Linked DNA regions of Homo sapiens: regions 2, 3 and 4 are each linked to region 1. The links are contacts of gene promoters, found by promoter capture Hi-C in blood cells and fetal thymus (Javierre and others, 2016). All regions are on one chromosome and are shown on one strand. The core of a region is centred on a gene start or on the middle of the fragment in contact, and the rest is flanking DNA. Distances in the headings are between cores, read along the strand shown. Region 1 holds the start of SGF29 (SAGA complex associated factor 29). Region 2 overlaps XPO6 (exportin 6). Region 3 has its middle 4.8 kb from the start of NFATC2IP. Region 4 holds the start of RABEP2 (rabaptin, RAB GTPase binding effector protein 2).

Region 1 (3,603 bases), core at 687-3,186:
AGCTGCCAACCCACCATTAGGCTATTATGACAACACTCAAAGTATCACCAGTAAAATGATGATTGAGGCAACTGAAAAACAAAGCTAGGGAAATGTGATGGTTAACTTTATGTGTCAAACTGATTGGGCTAGGGGATTCCCAGATAGCTGGTGAAACACTTTAGAGTGTGTCTGTGAGTTTCCTGAGGGTTTGCTTTCCTGGGCTTCCAGCTTGCAGATGGCAAATCTCGGGACTTCTCAGCCTCTATAATAGTGTCACCCAATCCATCACAATAAATCTCTTTTAAAATAGCTATACAGTTGACCCTCAAACAATGCAGGTTTTAATTGTGCAGGTCCACTTATATGTGGATTTTCTTCCACCTCTAGAACTCTTTTTTGAGACAGGGTCTTGCTCTGTCACCCAGGCTAGAGTGCAGTGGCACGATCTTGGCTCACTGCAGCATCCACCTCCTGGGTTTAAGTGATTATTGTGCCTCAGCCTCCCAAGTAGCTGGGATTACAGGCGTGCACCACCACGCCCGGCTAATTTTTTAATTTTTTTTTTTTTTTTTAGAAGAGACTGGATTTCACCACGTTGCTCGGGCTGGTCTCAAACCCCTGAGCTCAGGCAGTCTGCCCACCTCGGCCTCCCAAAGTGCTAGGATTACACGCATGAGCCACCGCGCCTGGCCAGTATTTACATTTAAAATGTGAAACTGGGATTGCGGTGGCTCATGCCTGTAATTCCAGCATTTGGGGAGGCTTTGGTTAGGAGGACTGCTTAAGCCCAAGAGTTTGAGGCTGCAGTGAGCTGTAATAACACCACTGTTCTCCAGTCTGAGCAACAGAGAACGTGTCTCTAATAAAAACAAAAATGTGAGATGATGCCTAGGTTAGAATCAGCAGAGGAGAAGCCAGAGAGAGCAGAGGCAAAGGAAGAGAACGTTCAGCAAGCCAAATGAAAACAGTGTTTCAAGGAGGGGCAGTGATCCACAGCATCAAATGCTGAACAGGACTGAGACCTAACTTAACAATGCATTTGGCCACCTAGAGATCACTGGTGGCTTTGACAAGAAGCCTTTTTAGTGGAGTGGTGGAGACCAAAGCCTGACTAGAGGCTCAAGGGTTCAAGACTTGGAGGAGAAAAGGCATTAGTGAGGGTAGACTAAGGCCTTTGGCTGCAAACCGGAGCCGAGGAGGAGGTAACTGGAGGATAGCGAGGGTGAAGGAGGCTGTTTTGTTGTTCTTAAGACGGGCATTTTTTGGCCGGGCGCGGGGGCTCACGCCTATACTCCCCACACTTTGGGAGGCCGAGGCGGGAGGTTGAGCCTCCTGGGCAAACGACGAGCTGTTAGTGTATCTTGTTAAGAACTATATATATATACAAAATTTTTGTGCAAATCATAAAATAAGTGCTGGAGTTCGGGGCCCATCCTCTGTCCGCATCTTCGTGACCCGGGTCCGAGTACCCCACCTGGAAGCTGCGTCCGTGCCGAGCCCAGCGTGTCGCTGTTTCCCACCCTCGCCGGGGATGGAAGCACGCAAGCGCAGACCTCGAGCGGCCGGGCGCAGGGCCCGCCCTCCCCGAGCCCCGGCCCCGCCCTCCTCTCCCGCCCCCACCCCCACGAGCCCCGCCCCCCTCCCGCCCAGAGCGCGTGCGCACCGCCCCTAGAGCGCCGCCTCAGGGAGGTCGGGAGCCGCGGCGCGGAGGGAGGACTCAGCCCTTCGCTCCCGCGTTTCGCCGGAGGTCTCAGGCCACGGCCCGTCGCCACCTACCGAGTCCGGGACAAAACAAGCTCGTCGGGCTGGAAACTGCGACGAGGGGAGCAGGCGCGTTCCTCGAACCCTTTTTCGGAGTCTGCGGATGATCACAGACCTGCGTTCGAAGATTGGCGGCACGTCGAGAACCGCACACGCTTTTTTTTCCTTTTATGAGCGTAGTCGCGCGCGGAGGACCTTGCACGCATGCGTAGTCGTTCCTCTGTGACGTGACCCGCTGCCCCGTGGGAAATGTAGTTTTCACTTGGCACACCGCTCCGGCTCTTGGCGGAACCCTAATTTAACCAACCAAAGTGCTTGTGCGTTTTCAGCGTTTTCTCCCATTTCCCCAGACTCTATTTAAAACAAAATGCAATAAATAAATAAATAAATAAAACTTGAAAGCGAACAGATTGCTGCTTGCTGGAGGTGGGTGGGCGCAGGGGTAATATGAAAACTGTACTTTCTGCTCAATTTTGTTGTGAACCTAAAAATGCCCTAAAAAATAAAAGTCTGTTGTTAAAAAATTAATTAAAAACAGGCCGGGCGCGGTGGCTCACGCCTGTAATCCCAACACTGGGACGCTAAGGCGGGCGGATCACCTGAGTTCAGGAGTTTGAAACCAACCCGGCCAACATGGTGAAACCCCGTCTCTACTAAAAAATACAAAAATCAGCCGGGCGTGGTGGCGGGTGCCTGTAATCCCAGGTACTGGGGAGGCTGAGGCTGGAGAATCGCTTGAATTCAGGAGGCGGAGGTTGTAGTGACTGGAGATTGTACCATTGCACTCCAGCCTGGGTGACAAGAGGGAAACTCCATCTCAAAAAAACAAACAAACAAAAAACAAGCAGATCTTTAGACCCAGAAATCGCACTTCTAGGGAATCTTCTCAGGAAAGTACTAAGGATATGGACGTGCAATGGACATGTAGCCTCAATGGTATTTTATCGAAAGCCATCCTGGTATCTTAAAGTTTCTTACATAACCTACAAATGTCTGTAATTATTTGTTGATTATTTGATAAACTTGCAAGTCCTATGAGATTGGGATCATCTTGTGTTCACCTGTGTATTCCTAGTACCTAGCACAGTGCCTGGCCATCACATGTTTCTTTTTTTTTCTCTTTGAGACAGGGTCTCGCTCTGTTGTCCAGGTTGGAGTGCAGTGGTGCCATCAGGGCTCCTGAGTAGCTAGGACTACAAGCACACACCAGCACATTCTGCTGATTTTTAAATTTTTTTTGGTAGAGATGGGGGTCTTGCTATGTTGCATAGGCTGGTCTTGAGTTCCTGGGCTCAAGCGATCCTCCTGCCTCAGCCTCCCAAAGTGCTGGGATTACAGGCATGAGCCACCAACCTCAGCCCCGTCAGTATTTTTCTGTTTATTAGAGAATCTCAGGCGTTAGCACTGAAACTATGTTAACCCCAAAATTAATGCATCATTTTCTTCCATCACACTTGCAGTTCTTTCTGTGGGCGTCAGGTCAGTGAATGACATGCCCATCCACCCAGCTGCAGTTCTACTTACTGCCTTTTATGAAGGTTATGCTTTGAGGGATTTTGCAAATTTTGCATTTGTAAAGGTCTCAGGGGCTCTTTTTCCTGATTGTTAAATATCAGCCCTAGCTAGGCCAGGCGTGGTGACTCACGCCTGTAATCCCAGCACTTTGGGAGGCCGAGGTGGGCAGATCACGAGGTCAGGAGTTTGAGACCAGCCTAGCCAATATGATGAAACCATGTCTCTACTAAAAATACAAAAATTAGCTGGGCATGGTGGCACGCACCTGTAGTCCCAGCTACTCTGGAGGCTGAAGCAGGAAAGAACCACTTGAACCCAGGAGGCGGAGGTTGCAGTGAGCCAAGA
Region 2 (3,603 bases), core at 360-2,859, 420 kb after region 1:
ATTTTTAAAAACAGAATAATTACCATAAGTGATGCTCAAACTGAACAAATATTAACATTTCCACAAAATATTAAACCAACTTTTGGAACCTTGTTTAGTCTTGGATATAATAGCAATTTGACTAAAGCCTTAATACCTTTATCAGTAGCTTGCAAGTGGCCAGGCCGAGTGGGAGCTGTTACTTATAGAAGTTACATTGCTGAAAAGCTGGCCTTTGTAAAGCTCGCTCTTGGCAAATTGCTAGCTTTCTCTGCGTGTGTCTATACGTGCTGGAATCTTTAGTTGTAAGGATTGATTCCCTTCCCTGTGTGGTGCGTGTTATTCAAAGAGATTTCATTAAATTCATCACTTCTTCAAGGCAAGGCAGTTATTAGGGTAATTTTTTTTTTTTTGAGACGGAGTCTCACGCTGTCTCCCAGGCCGGAGTGTGCAGTGGCGTGATCTTGGCTCACTGCAACCTCCACCTACTGGGTTCAAGCAATTCTCCTGCCTCAGCCTCCCGAGTAAGTGGGACTACAGGAGCTCACCACCACACCCAGCTAACTTTTTGTATTTTTAGTGGAGACGGGGTTTCACCGTGTTAGCCAGGATGGTCTCGATCTCCTGACCTCGTCGTCTGCCCGCCTCTGCCTCCCAGAGTGCTGGGATTTACAGGCGTGAGCCACCGCCCCTGGCCATAGGGTCATCTTTTGCATTGAATGACCCAGCTATACTTGTGTTCTCTCCTGGAAAGCTTCGTACTTTGCCATCTGCCTTTCTTAGGGGCCAGTCACGTTTTAATCTTACTGGTGAGTGTAGCAGCTTGAGAAAGAAAGATGCAGCTCCGGTTATGACGTTCTGACCGCTACTTGAGCCAGGGAACTGACTTCCAAATAATTTGGCCAATCTTATCACTTTACCATGTGCTTAATAAGGCATAGCTGACATTTCTCTCAAGGTAGAGGTTCCCTTGGATTTGAAGGGAGATATGGTCCCTTCTCAGAGTTCTAGAAGGTGTAGGTCATTTCAGGGTTTGATCTCCTCTATTAGGAACGTAAGAGTCATACCACAGTGTCCTTTGCTTTTTTTTTTTTTTTAAAAAAAGGGTTGAACTAATACGTTTTCTTTCTTATTCTGTGTATTAATTGGCGGTTTCAATTATAGAAACTAGTTGGGGGGCACTGAAGGGGGGTCATAGCTTTTTAGCTGCATTTAAAGGTTCCCAGAGAAAAGGTTTTGATCCTGTTCCTCACACCATAGTTACGTGTTAATGTTGTAATGTTAAAATGCTATTAAAACTTGCATTTATGGCTTAAAATTTTTGTTGTTTTTGTTTCTTTGTTTTCAGTTCCCTGTTCTTCAGGACAATTTAGAAGTTTATTTGGGATTACAACAGTTTATAGTCACTTCAGGGTCAGGTAAACTGGTTTTTATTTTCTAATTTAACCAAACATTCAAAAAACCATCGGACTGATATTTCATTACTGCTGCCGTTGCTGTCGGAACATGATTTCTTCACTGCAGCCTCCCCACTGGCATCTCTCCCCACTTCGAAACAGGGAACGTTTTTAAAGGCTTATGATGAAAAGCTGTGGGGGAGGTAAAAGATGAGGTCATGACAGTGTATTCCAAGGAGGTGTTTGGAAAAGAAACTGATTTGGAGTAAAGAGACAGGACTTACTAAAAAGCCTCTAATTAGTTTCCTTATGTCCTTTCAACCAGCAGGTGTACTAGGGAGAACATGGCCTTGTGCTTTCTTGCTTCCTGCTCACTTTAGAATTGGAAGGCCATAGTGCAGCTGATGGCCTGTGGTCCCCCTGCCCCCTGCACCTGTTGCAAATGGCCCCAGGGGCTCTGACCAGAGCTGGTTGAAAAGGCTTTTGGCTGCTGTTTACAGGCCCTGCCTGCTTGGGGTTTAGGGTTAGTTTGCTTTGTTATTTTGTTGATAACAATAATAGTAATAGCTTCCATTTGTAGCTCTCATTACATGCCAGGCACTGTGTTATTGACTTATATTACTTAATTCTCTCCATCGTCCTGTGAGGTGTAAGTGCTATTACTAGTTACCCCTGTTTTACATAAGAGGAAATTGATGTTCAGAGATGTTAATTTACCCAGGGTCCCATGGCTTTGTTGGTACAAGTCGCATGATGGTATAATAGGGAATGACAAAATGTTGAAATAGCTAACATCTGACATTCATTTTTGTCAACTGAAAACACCAGTAACTGAAAGCCACATGTGTCCTCCCTGCCCCATCAGCTGCTATGCACCACTCTCACTGCCCTTCCTTCTTCCCAGCATGCTTCTTATGGGATCTGTCCCGGCTCTGGTGCGCAGCCCCTGTGTTGGGTAACTGTTGTTTCAGCCCAGCACAGAGCCGCCCAGTGTGCAGCCCATCTCCTGGATGAGCTTGTGATTCATGGCAGAGCCTCCACAGGAGCCTTTTTCCGAGGCTGTCCTTGGTGGTCTGTGACGGCTGGTTTCCATGACTATATAAGCTTCTAAATAATCTAGTGGGCCCCAGGAGGCTGATGGGCCTTGGCATGCCCCGAATGTAGGCCCTGACTTTGTAGATAGGGTAAGAAATTTAAAAAGACAAAACTTTAAAAAGACACTTTCAAAACAAACATGCTTATAAAATGTGCTGTCACCACTAATGAAAATCATTTGGCTGTGTAGAAGTGCTACAGATGTTTCCAGAAGCCATTTTTGGGAATAATCGTGCCCAGGTGGTCTTTCCTTCAGGACCACTATTCAAATTAGAATGTACTCAGGACCCTGAAGACACTGTTCTTGATCTATTAAAAAAATCAAGCAGGTGTTCTTTCCTCCCCCACACTGACCCTTCAGTGTCCTGTTTACTTTTGTAAAAGCTGGTGTTTTTACATTCTGTTGTGTCTGTCTTTAGGTGAAAGTCTAGTGAATCTGAAACTCTATTTCTGGGACATAGCTGATAATTCTGAGCTCTTCTCCCTAGAAGGATAATGTGATTTATTTTTTCCTATAGGAAATACCGCATACTTGCTTTCACTAAAGCCTGTTTACTGGCAATTTCACAGAACTCGGCTCGTCCGGATCATTTATAAATCTCATCCTCAGCACTGATCCTTGGCTTGTACTCCAGTGGCAAAACCTCCCAGGCCAGAAAAATGCTTATTTCCTGCTTTAAAACGAGCTCTCTCATCCATGACAAAGCATTCCCCAATTTTTGGTGGCTCAGAAGCCAAGTTTCCAGTGCAAAGGCTATTAACAAATGGAAACTCTGAGTACATTTTTTCCCCTGGTTCCCATAGCCATTTACCCCCTCAAATAACCTCCATGCCACACCAGTCAGTCAGCCTCATGACCCTCAGCAGAAACTGTGCCCTCTCATCCCTGATAGGCTCTGGGCCTTCCTTCATTTGCATTTACTTTCTAGCCCAGCCTTTAGTTCTTGGGTCTCCTCTGGAGCCTGTGTAAATGGGCGCCAGCCGCGATTCTTGTCTACTCCTGGTGCTGTGACCGTGTATGACAATGGGATGCACATTTTGGCCAGCAGTGAGGCCTGCAGTGTGGTTACCCAGCCTGGAAGGCTCCCACTTTTGCTTTTGTCAGAGCAGTTGGATTCAGAAGATCTCGTGC
Region 3 (3,603 bases), core at 504-3,003, 390 kb before region 1:
AAAGCCATCTGGTGCCTGTTGCCCCACAGTCACACAGCCCCTGTCAGAAGATTATAGTTCCCCTTAACTGCTCTTGAATCACGGCTTGGACATTACATTAGGTGTTCCCTTTGAGATATTCCTTCAGGTCTTGATGGAACTACTGATTCAGCTGACCTGAAGGACCCCACAAGGAGCTGACTCCCCGCAAAATGCAGCTTCTACACCCTGACAATTTCATCCCCCTTCCCAACCAATCAATGACCCCAATATTCCAGCCCATCACTCCCCACAAACCCCTTAAAAGCCCAGCCCAGAACTCCCTGGAGAGAGATTTGAGGGTCTCCTCCCATCACCTCGCTCGGCACCCTGCAATCATTAAACTCTCTCTGCTGCATCCCCACCGTCTCAGAGTCACAGAGCTGTGACTGCACAGTGGGCATATGAACCTGCAGCTCCTGTAACAATATGGAATTTGAAATTTTATCTTGAAAACAGGATAATGGTTTACACCTGCTTGGCTGTAATGAAGGATATTTCTTTTTGCCTTTGCAATCTTTTACCAGATTGCCAGTGATGTGCATCACATTCTAACTTAATGCTTATTCAAGCCGGGTGCAGTGGCTCACGCCTCTAATCCCAGTACTTTGGGAGGCTGAGGTGGTTGGATCACCTGAGGTCAGGAGTTCGAGACCAGCCTGGCCAATATGGTGGTGTATTTTTCTACTAAAAATACAAAAAATTAGCCAGGCATTGTGGTGGGCACCTGTAATCCCAACTACTCCGGAGCCTGAGGCAGGAGGATCACTTGAACCCGGGAGGCAGAGGTTCCAGTGAGCTGAGATTGTGCCATTGCACTCCAGCATGGGCAACAAGAGTGAAACTCCATGTCAAAAAAGAAAGAAAAATTATGCTTATTCAATAATAAAACCAGCCCGGGCATGTTGGCTTATGCCTGTAATCCCAGCACTGGGAGCCTGAGGTGGGAGGATCACTTGAGGTCTAGGGTTCAAGGCCAGCCTGGGCAATATAGCAAGACCCTGTCTCTACAAAAAGTAATAATAATTAGTGGGTGTCGTGATGCACACCTGTAGTCCTAGCTACTTGGGAGGCTGATTGAGCCCAGGAGTTCAAGGCTGCAGTGAGCTATGATCTCACCACTTCACTCGAGCCTGGGCAACAGAGCAAGACCCTCTCTCTAAAAATAAATAAATACATACAATTTAAGGCCAGGCACAGTGGTTCACGTCTGTAATCCCAGCACTTTGGGAGGCCAAGGTGGGAGGATCACTTCAGGCTGAGCGTTAAGACCCGCCTAGGCAATATAGTAAAACCCCCAACTCTACGAAAAATAATAATACATTTTAAAACTTTTTTTTTTTTGAGATGGAGTTCCACTCTTGTTGCCCAGGCTGGAGTGCAGTGGCACAATCTTGGATCACTGCAACCTCCACCTCCCGGGTTCAAGCGATTCTCCTGCCTCAGCCTCCTGAGTAGCTGGGATTACAGACATGCGCCACCACGCCTGGCTAATTTTTTGTACTTTTAGTAGAGATGGAGTTTCACCATGTTGGTCAGGCTGGTCTCGAACTCCCAACCTCAGGTGAGCCGCCCGCCTCAGCCACCCAAAGTGCTGGGATTACAGGCGTGAGCCATCACGCCAGGCCCATTTTACAACTTTTTAACCAAAAATAATAATAAAACTGTTTTCTGTCTCTACTACCTTTGTGGAGAAGTTTGTTGGGTTTAGATATTTTGTTTCTTAATTATATTTCCCAAACACACTCGCCAACACCTCCTACCAACAATATTGTGCACCTCAGAGACTACACGCCCTCCACACATCCACAGCGTTGGCAACTCCTGCACAACATATATCCCAACACAACACAAACACGCCCCTTCAACACTTCACTCTTCCCACTTTGCCTCCAACCGTATAACCACCTGCCGCCTCACACTTACGTCCCACGCCACACGTCGCTCAGGATACCCACACCGCACACACCCAATACCACATGCTGCTCACACCCACGGTGCTCACAAAACTCGCGCCTCATACATCCACGCAGAACGGCATGTCCACCTCTGCCCTAGTCTCATCCCATACGCCTCCATCCCAACCGCGGCACCGATGTCCCCTGCAGGCGCCCCCCGCTGGACCAGCATGCATTTCCCTTCCCCGTGCAGACTCCGCCAAGGTCAGGACTGCAGGCGCACAACAGCCAGCAGGTGGAGCTGTTTTCCAGGAAACGGAGGCTCCTGGACTCCACCGACTTCCCAGCCCCAGGAGGCCTTCAGCCTCTCTCTGTAGCCAGGCGGCAGGCCAGTCTTGGGCGCTCCCGGGAAACCACTGCAAACCGCAAGCAGGAGGTGGCCCTGAGAGTCTAAAATTTTCAAGTCTCCTTTCCCCAAACCTTGCTCAAGAGCTGAAAGTGCACCTGTAAGTCCCAGCTACTAGGAATGCTTGAGATGGGAAGATTGCTTGAGTCCAGGAGCTCAAGGCTAGCCTGGGCACACATAGCGAGACCTCATCTCTGTTTTTTGTTTTTGTTTTTGTTTGAGACGGAGTCTCGCTCTGTTGCCAGGCTGGAGTGCAGTGGCGTGATCTCGGCTCACTGCAACATCCGCCTCCTGGGTTCAAGCGATTCTCCTGCTCAGCCTCTCAAGTAGCTGGGACTACAGGCGTGTGCCACCAGGCCCGGCTAATTTTTGTATTTCTAGTAGAGGCGGGGTTTCACCATGTTGGCCAGGATGGTCTCAATCTCTTGACCTAGTGATCCACCCGCCTCAGCCTCCAAAAGTGCTGAGATTACAAGTGTGAGCCACCGTGCCCAGCCAAGACCTCATCTCTTAAAAAAAAAAAAAATTATTTTTTGGCCAGGCGCAGTGGCTCACGACTGTAATCCTAGCCCTTTGGGAGGCCGAGGTGGGAGGATCACTTGAGGCCAGGAGCTCAAGTCTAGCCTGGGCAACATGGCAAAACCCCTTCTCTACCAAAAAATACAGAAGTTAGCCAGCCGGGTGTGGTGGTGCACGCCTATAGTCCCAGCTACTAGGGAGGCTGAGGTGAGAGAACTACTCAAATCCAGGAGTTCAAAGTTACGGTGGGCTATGATTGTGCCATTACCCTCTAACCTGGCCTAGCCTAGCCTAGTGAGACCCTGTCTCAAAATAAATAAATAAATAAATAAATAAATAAATAAGATGTCAAATAATAAGAGCTCATGCTTGAGTCCTTGCTAAGCCACTGTTGTATGCTTTACGTGTCATTTAAGACTCATTGATAATGTCCTCATTTTCTGAATTACTATTTCATGGTCTATTTTACAGACCAGGAAATTGCAGTTCAGAGAGCTTAAGCCATGTAGCTGGAAAGGGGTGGAGCCAGGATTCACATAAACCCAGCTAGTCTGGGCCAGGCACAGTGGCTTATGCCTGTAAACCCACCACTTTAGGAGGCTGAGGCAGGCGGATCATCTGAGGTCAGGTGTTCAAGACCAGCCTGGCCAACATGATGAAACCCTGTCTCTACTAAAAATACAAACAAACAAAAAAAATCTAGCTGGGCAGCTGGGCTTGGTGGTGTGTGCCTGTAGTCCCAGCTACTCAAGAGGCTGAGGC
Region 4 (3,603 bases), core at 325-2,824, 370 kb before region 1:
TGCACGATGTGCAGGTTTGTTACACAGGGAAACATCTGCCATGGTAGTTTACCGCACCCATTAACCCATCACCTAGGTATCAAGCCCAGGATGCATTAGCTACTCTTGCTGATGCTCTCCCTCCCCCCTCCCAACACCCACCCCACAGGCCCCCATGTGTGTTGGTCCCCTCCCTGTGTCCATGTGTTCTCATTGTTCAGCTCCCACTTATAAGTGAGAACATGCATGTTTAGCTTTCTGTTGCTGCATTAATTTGCTGAGGATAATAGCTTCTAGCTTCATCCATGTCCCTGCAAAGGACATGATCTCGTTCCTTTTTATGGCTGTATAGTATTCCATGGTGTATATGTACCACATTTTCTTTATCCAGTCTATCATTGATGGGCATTTGGGTTGAGTCCATGTCTTTGCTATTTTGAATAGTGCTTCAATGAACATACTCGTGCATGTATCTTTGTAATAGAATGATTTATATTCCTTTAGGTATATACCCAGTAATGGGATTTCTGGGTCAAATGGTATTTCTGGTTCTAGGTCTTTGAGGAATCACCACACTGTCTTCCACAATGGTTGAACTAATTTACATTCCCACCAACAGTGTAAAAGCGTTCTACCTTTGGCCATTTTCAAACTGCATTATCTGTTTTACAAAAATCGCTCCAGCTGCTTTACGGAGAATTAATTAATTAAAGGGTGGAGTCGACACTGCGGAAGTTCAGGAGAAGTGATGGGAGCTGGGACGGAGTGTTAGCGCTGGAGATGGAGAAAAAGGGGCACATTCTGGAATAGTCAGCACATTGGAAGTAGAGTTTACGGGACTTGCAGGAGGACACGTAGAATCAAGGACTTCCAGGTTCCTGGCGTGTCCTTTACAGAGGGAAAAAAGGTTTGAGGGAAGGGGAACCAAGGCTCTGGACATAAATCTGAATTGCCTGTCACCGTCCGGGTGGAGGTCACAGATAAAGAGCCTGATCTAGACACAGGCGGAGAGGAGAGGAGGGATTTGAGGGCGTTGGGAGGAGGAAAGGGGGGCCAGCAGGAAGCGGTGACTGGCTGAGTAACAAAATGGGGGTGGGGACGTGCAAGTTTCAGACTCCGACTAACTACGCGGGGACTCCGAGGCGCTCAGAAAAATGAAGCCGACCCGGCCCTGCCCCGAGGGACGCTCCAAGAGGGCGGAGGTGCAGGGAGGGCCCCGCCACAATTCGCGGTAACGCAAGCCAGGCTCGGGCGGAAGGGCGGCCGGAGCCGATCAAAGGCTGGCTCCGGGCAGGGGCAGCGAGGGAGCGAGGGGGAGCTCTCCGCAGGCCGGTGTCCCGGAGGAGGCATAATTGGAGCAGGGCTTCCAAGGTCACGGAGAGACGCCGGGCAAGACCTCTTAAGGATCCTCTTCCGGGCTTGAAAGGCAGGCGTCCTCCCGAACCGCGCGACCCAGCCAAGAAGAGCCGGGGCGGGGCCGGGGCCGGGGCCGGGGGCCGACTCGGGAATCTTCGGCCGAGGCTCGGCAATCCCCCCATCCTCCGTCCGGGGCCTCCAGCCCGGGGCCGATCCGGAAACAGCCGAGCGGATCCGGAAACAGCCGAGAGGACCCGGAAGCGGTGCGCTCCGTCACCAGGGAGTGCGGGAATCCGCCGTTTGCGCTGAGGCAATGGCGGCAGCTGCGCCGGTGGCCGCGGACGACGATGAGCGGCGGCGGCGGCCGGGGGCTGGTACGTGAGGGGGCGTCCGTGCAAGCGGGGAACGGTGATGCTGGGGGCGGGGCCGAGCCAGCCACCTGCGGATGGGGGGTGGAGAGGGATGATGGAGGAAGGGGCGGGGCCACGCCGTCGGGAAAGGGGGCGGGGCCTACAGCCACAGGCAAAAGGGGGCGTGGCCCGGCCATTGAAGGGGTAGGGCCAGTGACAGGTGCGAAGTGGGGCCCGGTGAGGAAGGGGCGCGGCCACTAGGAGGGCGGGGCCAGGTGGGACCGAAGAGAGGACTGAGTGAAACTGGCCACCGCGAAGAGATGGAGTGTAGGCAGCACCCGGCAGAGCGAGTGGGAAGGGGGCGGGGCAGGGGCGGGGCCAGGTGAGCCGGGCGGGCCCAGGTGAAGGAGGCCCCAGATGAAGGCAACAGTACTAGGTTGCAGGACTTGCTAAGCCGGTAGGTGGCCTGGGGTAAGAGATGGGAAGAGAGGCTGATCCCTGTCCCCCACAGCACTGGAGGACTCCCGGTCCCAGGAAGGGGCAAATGGTGAGGCCGAGTCAGGTGAGCTCAGCCGGCTTCGGGCTGAGCTGGCAGGCGCCCTGGCAGAAATGGAAACCATGAAGGCTGTGGCAGAGGTGAGCGAGAGCACGAAGGCCGAGGCTGTGGCTGCGGTGCAGCGGCAGTGCCAAGAGGAGGTGGCCTCGCTGCAGGCCATCCTGAAAGGTGAGACGCGGGACTCACCTAGACTCCCCATCAACCCCATACTGGGGAGTGCATGACGAGAAAGGGATTGGGGGCACAGATAAGCTATGGGATAGGTTAGCAGGGCTGCCTGGCACAGGGCATGCCTATGGCCCAGAGGAAGGGCCGCCCTTTTAAAATTTGCATAGAGGCCCTCCATGTGATAGCAGCAGCTCTGTCAGTTATAGCTAAGTTTAGCTCCCAGCTTCTATCTGTTGCCTTGTCCCATGTCATTTCTTGTCCCTCACTGATGATTGATCAACCCTGAAGATGGGCGAGAAACTTCTCAGTTCCCCAAACCAACCTCATTTTAGTCTGGACTTCTGGGAAATAGAATCAGCCCTGGCCCAGTCTCTGTGAGTCTAATGCTCTGCTCTCTAGCCTTCCCCAGACACTCCCCCCTCCACCCCACGCCATGCACCAGCTTCCCCACCTCCGCCCCACGTTCTTTGTACTTGGTCCTCTGGCCCCAGACGCCCCAGCTGCTGATCCTGTTTTCTACTCTCCTTCCTCTAGCAGAAGCCAGAGACTCTGAAACAGATGTCAGAGCTGCCCCCGCTGCTATGCCCCTGCTGCGGTGGGGCTCTCGTCAACTCTCTCCTGGACTTTTGTCCCAACCTTCTCACAGATCTTCCTCTATAGTGTGGCCTTGACATTGGCTTCCAGAGTAAACTTCCTAAAATTCCCTTCCCAACATGCGATTTCCCTTTCTAACAGCTGCTGGTGGCTGGAGACTTCTCTGGGGCTGTATTTCCCACATTTCAGGATCCACCTGCCTGTGCAATGTAGACACATCCTTGTACAACTTACTGTGCTGTTTACTTAATATTTGTTCTTTAAATAGATCCACATTTTAAAAGTTTACATACATTTATTAAGGGAAACTTGTTATATCTACTATATAAGAAAAGCCAGGTGTGTCCTAAATAATAACAATAGCTAGCTTTTTTTTTTTTTCTTGAGTCAATAAGAGTTTCACTCTGTCGCCCAAGCTGGAGTGCGTCACAGCACGCTGGTGTGATCTCAGCTCACTGCAACCTCCACCTCCTGGGCTCAAGCAGATCCTCCTACCTCAGCCTCCCAAGTAGCCAAGACTACAGGTGCATGCCACCATGCCTGGCTAATTTTTAGTATTTTTTTGTAGAAACAGGGTCTCTCTATGTTACCCAGACAGGT

The links. The method cuts DNA at HindIII sites, captures the fragments that hold promoters and counts their contacts. A CHiCAGO score of 5 or more calls a contact.
Region 2: a fragment that was not itself captured here is called in contact with the fragment with the promoter of SGF29 in region 1 in 1 of 17 cell types (total CD8 T cells); the score reaches 5.3 in total CD8 T cells.
Region 3: a fragment that was not itself captured here is called in contact with the fragment with the promoter of SGF29 in region 1 in 1 of 17 cell types (total CD8 T cells); the score reaches 5.3 in total CD8 T cells.
Region 4: a contact is called between the fragment with the promoter of RABEP2 here and the fragment with the promoter of SGF29 in region 1, in 1 of 17 cell types (erythroblasts). The highest score is 5.6, in erythroblasts.

Annotation. Positions count from the first base shown.
Region 1 is chr16:28,552,253-28,555,855 of GRCh38, reverse strand. It overlaps SGF29 (SAGA complex associated factor 29), which reads right to left and starts at 1,936. Exons shown (of 10, transcript NM_138414.3): 1 at 1,759-1,936. RefSeq lists a silencer at 1,508-1,627 and an enhancer at 1,648-1,967. The HindIII fragment of the contact is 18,994 bases long and covers 1-3,603 here.
Region 2 is chr16:28,130,128-28,133,730 of GRCh38, reverse strand. It overlaps XPO6 (exportin 6), which reads left to right. Exons shown (of 24, transcript NM_015171.4): 12 at 1,328-1,397. Among named protein-coding and RNA genes, the nearest start is that of GSG1L, 68 kb to the right of the region's middle. The HindIII fragment of the contact is 1,747 bases long and covers 736-2,482 here.
Region 3 is chr16:28,944,337-28,947,939 of GRCh38, reverse strand. No RefSeq gene overlaps it. Among named protein-coding and RNA genes, the nearest start is that of NFATC2IP, 4.8 kb to the left of the region's middle. The HindIII fragment of the contact is 5,380 bases long and covers 1-3,603 here.
Region 4 is chr16:28,923,209-28,926,811 of GRCh38, reverse strand. RABEP2 (rabaptin, RAB GTPase binding effector protein 2) reads left to right here and starts at 1,574. Exons shown (of 13, transcript NM_024816.3): 1 at 1,574-1,709; 2 at 2,197-2,409. The coding sequence starts at 1,649. RefSeq lists enhancers at 531-1,114, 2,093-2,322, 2,353-2,442 and silencers at 1,333-1,682, 1,713-1,932. The HindIII fragment of the contact is 8,433 bases long and covers 1-3,603 here.